Regions from separate parts of the Homo sapiens genome. Here region 1 is linked to region 2. Evidence: promoter capture Hi-C in 16 types of primary human blood cells and fetal thymus (Javierre and others, 2016). All regions are on one chromosome and are shown on one strand. Each heading gives the region's core, a stretch centred on a gene start or on the middle of the fragment in contact. The rest is flanking DNA. Distances are from core to core; before and after follow the strand shown. Region 1 overlaps MED12L (mediator complex subunit 12L). Region 2 holds the start of P2RY12 (purinergic receptor P2Y12).

Region 1 (2,779 bases), core at 256-2,755, 190 kb after region 2:
AACAGTATGAACTATGAATCCATGTTTGCAATTCTAATACCAGGTTTTTAATTGTAAGTATAGCTACTGTTTTAAAAAATAATAATGGTATATGCCTAAACTGTGAGGTGTTTTTTTTTTTTTTGTTTGTTTTTTTGAGACAGTTTTGCTCTTGTTGCCCAGGCTGGAGTGCAATGGCGCAATCTCGGCTCACTGCAACCTCCACCTCCCGGGTTCAAGCAATTCTCCTGCCTCAGCCTCCTGAGTAGCTGGGACTACAGGCATGTGCCACCACGCCCGGCTAATTTTGTATTTTTGGTACAGACAGGGTTTCTCCATGTTGGTCAGGCTAGTCTCAAACTCCCAACTTCGGGTGGTCTGCCCGCCTCAGTCTCCCAAAGTGCTGGGATTACAGGCATCAGCCACCGTGCCCAGGCTAAACTGTCAGTTTTTAAGCAATTGTCTCAAGTTCTCGTCATTTTCTATAACTTCCTATCACCACCTCCATCTTTTTTGCCTTGAAAATTTCAGTAAGTATCTGGAACAATATCCAAAATACCAGAATTTGGCAGAAAATTATAAAGTCACACTCATAGCATAAAATAATTTGTTGAAAAGGACACTTCTACAACATTTGAGAAACAGAGATTAAACTTTTAATTAACTGAAATGAAAATATGTGTTGTGACTAACAAAGAATTTCCCATTATGAATAAAAGAGTGATATAAGTAATGAATGATACATTAGGGAAAAGACGATTCTTAGAATGAAAACTCAGCTGACACTTAAAGGTCAAAACAAGTCCAGTTTTGAGACACAATGTTAAAGAAAAACTAGAGATTAGAAACATCTAGAACTGAAAGTATATAATTCCAATCCTATGAAAAATGTTATGGCCTGTCAGATTATTTTCATTACAGTTTTATAGTATCCAAAGGGAAATTCTGGAAGACATAAGAAGCTACAGTGTAAATATCTTTCCTGCTCGAGAAGTAGAGATAAACAACCACTGGGGCAAAAGAATACAACAAAAAGCCATCACTCTTCTACCACTACATGACCCATTTGAACATGGTTCCCAGTAGAGTTTAGTTTCTGGGGGAGTGGGGCATCATATCCAGGGCCATACCTCCATTTTCACATCATGGTCCTTTGAATAGTGTTCATCTGCATTTTCCCCTACTGGTGACCGCGGCCGAGTTGAGGCAGTGACTGACAAATCTCCTCGAGATATGAGGGTACACATGTATGCGTCATGGGAGAAGACATCATGGCGGATGAACTCGCAGAAGAGCAGCACCAGGTTCACAAATTCCACCTTTTCACATTCACTGTTTGGGTCCGCTATAGAGAAACAAATTCAATCAAGAATTCCTTGAGCAGGTGGTAGAAAAAAACTAATTACTAAGGCTTAATATTTTCATTACTTTTCACAATCAACTTTTCTGGGGAAAAAAAAGATCTATTGGAAGATTTACTGAGGCACTAGCATTTTGGGCAGAACTGACAGGCAGGTTTTGATTGTCCCACCATAACTGAAAAATATCCAGTATGGTAAACATGATTACAAGTTTAAAGATAGTAGTCCTGGCTGGGTGCAGTGGCTCACACCTGTAATCCCAGCACTTTGGGAGGCTGAGGTGGACAGATCCCCTGAGGTCAGGAGTTCGAGACCAGCCTGGCCAATATGGTGAAACCCCGTCTCTACCAAAAATACAAAAATTAGCTGGGCATGGTGGTGGGTGCCTGTAAGCCCAGCTACTCGGGAGGCTGAGGCAGGAGAATCGCTTGAACCCGGGAGGCGGAGGTTGCAGTGAGCCAAGATCGTGCCACTGTACCCCAGCCTAGGCGACAAGAGCGAAACTCCATCTCAAAAAAAAAAAAAAGATAGTAGTCCTGAATACCCATTCAAGTACTAATGTAAAAAAGCAAAATTTCAGGATCAGAAAAAAAGACAGCAGGACTAGACTGCCGTCCTCTGGTTTTACTAATAAAACAGTTCATGACTGCTTTTTCTAGCTTGAGTGGGTCTGTGCAATTGTGAGAATATGGGTGCACATTTTCAAAGGAGATTTTACAATTGAACCACAATTTAAATGGTGTTTGAAAAAAATGTAAGCAGGATCCACGGAAAAGAAAAAGGAACAACTGAATAAAAAGAACACAAAGATGGAGCTCTGCAGATTATTTTTATTCATAACTAGCCTATTTAACTCACATTATGACTTTCAATATTGTCACTGCACTCTAAAGTTTTGTGACTACACCTTTAAGATAAGATTCAAAATTTGTAAGATGAACCTGCAAAGCTCAATCCTTGGTACCATCACATTCACAAACACCAATAGGAGACACATTTATCCAAGGAACATTAAGCTCAGTTCCCTAAACCTTGAACCTAAATGTTTCCTCTTGCTCACTACCAAACTCGGTGATGAGCAGCCTCTTTCAGGGAACAGATCAGCTTTTTCTGACAGACAGTAAATGAGATGAACTAGCAAAGACACAGGAGTAAGGAGTTTTTCCTAAAGAGAGAACAAGAATGGGGAAGAAACGAGGGAAGCAAAGGGCAAATGTCTGTCTCCCCCAGGGTACAAGGTAAGTTACAACTGCTAACTTCATGCCTGACAATATATTTTCTGCTATCAGGGATCTCTTCAGTCCTTTCACTTTTCTGCTTCCTTTTCCATGAATTACTCCTCCCTATGTTCCAACCACTAGATTAGCTCCAGTGCTTGCTCTCCTTCTAGCCTGGAAGCCACCAAATAACTGAGAGAGCCCTTTGTCTCAAAGAACCTC
Region 2 (2,700 bases), core at 71-2,570:
ATCCTTCAAAATGACTCGTGTCAATTTTCCTGGGGACCCTCTATTCTATCCCCTAATACTCTCTCTGTACCATGTCACACAAATCTCATTACACTGTAATTGTCTGTCTACTTCCCCCTTGAGGGTAGGAACTCTGTCTTTCATCTTGGTGATTGTGGAATGTCGGTGGTTGCTTACTGTTCATTAAAAGAGTAACTGACCAATTTTCTCATATTTTAGAGAACCATCTTTAATATCTTATATAAAACAAATGTCCATTAAATACTGCTTGATAGGAATAGAGAATATCCTAACAATTAAAATAATTTTTATTTGAAATAGCTTACTACAGGAAGGTTTTTTTTTTTTTTTCCCCCCCCAGAGACAGGGTCTCACTTTGTTGCCCAGGCTAGGGTGTAGTGGCTATTCACAGGCATGAGCCTAGCACATTGCAGCCTTAAACTCCTGGCTTCAAGCAATCCTCCTGCCTCAGCCTCCCAAGTAGCTGGAACTAAAGACATGTGCCACCATGCTCAGCTTACAAGAAATTTTTCATTGATAAATATATTCTGCTTCTAAATCTGAAGTATAATCAGAACTTATTTATGCAATTTTTTTTTTACACTAAGCTTTTACTTAGTTTTCTCTTGGTAGGTTTCCAAAAATTTACTTAAATTCAGGGAAACATTTTAAGTCCTTTAAACATATAAAACGTAGATCTTCAAAGATATGACCTCTTTATATGATAATGCCAATGACTAAGTACACTTAGAAGACAAGCATATGCCTTAAAAACATCAACAGCAAAATTAATATATTTTATATATCCTATGGTAAGACAAAAAAAAGTATTTCATCTTTTGTAAATAAATTTATATATAAGAAAAAACATTCACTCTTGCCTGTTTTTTATCTATAGAGTCAAATCCAGCAATTTTGTTTCCTTTTGTGTCAATCAAGGAACCCATAGGTTCACAAGTGATGACATCACATGTCTGTTTCGGCAAAGGTAGTAACTGTCGAACTTTGTCAATACTTTCTGATCGCTTGTCTCCTAGCTCTTTCTAAAGAAAAAAGAGAGAGAGAGAGAGTGAGAAGTGGGACAGAAATTACAATGAAGGCAAAAGTTAACCAGAAGGAAGTTCCCCTATGAAACATTTCCCTTTTTATAGCTTAGCGCATGTTCTTTAACCCTGAACATGTTCTACAAGGCAGTTCCAAATAGAGCAATGAGTGTTTCATTTCTTCTATTTAAGTAGAAAATAGAACACATACAAAGGCACTGTTGTTACACAACAAACATCATAGTGCTGAAATGACAAAAATCCAGGGTAGTGATCACAATCAGAAGACAGGAGCTGCAGAACAGAACACTTTCTCATGTCCAGGGTCAGATTACAAGGTAACCATTGATTTATTTGATTGGTAATGCATCAGATTTATTTGGTTTCTTTTTTGCACTGTTTTCTTACAATTTTTTTTTAAAGGAGTCTGTTAGTGGTCGGTCAAATGAATCGATTTATAAATTTCAATGCAGATGGCTATTTTTTCAATTACACGTGCCAGTCCAAGCATAGAGTTATCCTAAATCTATCTAATGTTAGTATTCTGGTTATATATTTAACAGTGGATTTCTAAAGTTCTTTAAAAAATTAAACATGTTTTATAATGTAATTGTTTTCAATAAAAAATAATCAAGGTTATGTGCATGTAACTTCTGGGTACTAATAAGGTTAGGTGAAACAAATAGCAAATAATCACATTAAATTAAGTTGAATACAATTAATAACATTTAATGAGTAATAAATTAAAATGCACTAGATAATAAATCCATAAACAACTTGAGCTCATAATACAGGCTGATCTCAAACTTACTTTCAGTTTCTTTACTAAATTCATGTATGCACGCTTGTTCTCTTCAGATCCCCCAGGGGATGCATTTGATAGGTCAGAGGCTAACGTTCCATTGATTAAAACACCCAGCATGTCAAGAACTGTTGTGAATAATTCACTAAGAAAGAAAATAATTATTTTCATCTTAAAGTGAAACTGAAATACACTTATTTAACTGAGTATTTTTATTCAAGGCACAGAATTTTTAATAGCATCCAAGTAAATAAGATGTGGCAGAAATCGCCATCAGTATATCAAAGCTTATACCATGCATACATGTAGCAAAATCAATGTGAAGTGATAAAAACATACTTGTTAGTGTGCATGTCAACAGTTCCTGAAGTAATGATCTGAAGGAGTAGCAGGGCCCAGTCTGTAGTCCACTGGGTGCTCCTCTGCACCGTGTCAAACATTCCTCCTACCTAGCAGACAAAATACAGTAAGATATTTGCATTCTGTAAAACAGAAAGAACACCCCATTGCTTTATGTTATCAAATTTTGATTGTTTTTTATTTAAAAAAACAAGGGATGCTCTAGTTTATAGATTACCTTATCTTTTCTCTTTTACCTACATGTTTATCACTATTTTTAGTTCTTTCAGCACAGTTCAGTCATTCAAACATTAACTAAAATGAAGAAGGGACGTGAGTATCTGAATGTGGGCACCAATAAACTTAGCTTTCTTTTGTTCCAAATCTTTTATGATGTCCAGTTTTATGATGCAATTATAGTTGAATTAAACCTGAATAATGTCAAAGTCATGTAATCCAATTATCTGCATCTTTGTGTTTGCTGTACAATTACTATTGAATCTAAGCCTGCTATCA

What was found. The method cuts DNA at HindIII sites, captures the fragments that hold promoters and counts their contacts. A CHiCAGO score of 5 or more calls a contact.
Region 1: a contact is called between a fragment that was not itself captured here and the fragment with the promoter of P2RY12 in region 2, in 1 of 17 cell types (megakaryocytes). The highest score is 5.8, in megakaryocytes.

Annotation. Positions count from the first base shown.
Region 1 is chr3:151,189,262-151,192,040 of GRCh38, reverse strand. MED12L (mediator complex subunit 12L) reads right to left here. Exons shown (of 45, transcript NM_001393769.1): 14 at 1,110-1,324. Among named protein-coding and RNA genes, the nearest start is that of GPR171, 13 kb to the left of the region's middle. The HindIII fragment of the contact is 3,739 bases long and covers 1-2,779 here.
Region 2 is chr3:151,383,373-151,386,072 of GRCh38, reverse strand. P2RY12 (purinergic receptor P2Y12) reads left to right here and starts at 1,320. Exons shown (of 3, transcript NM_022788.5): 1 at 1,320-1,381. It overlaps MED12L (mediator complex subunit 12L), which reads right to left. Exons shown (of 45, transcript NM_001393769.1): 34 at 2,185-2,294; 35 at 1,855-1,990; 36 at 882-1,043. The HindIII fragment of the contact is 1,524 bases long and covers 611-2,134 here.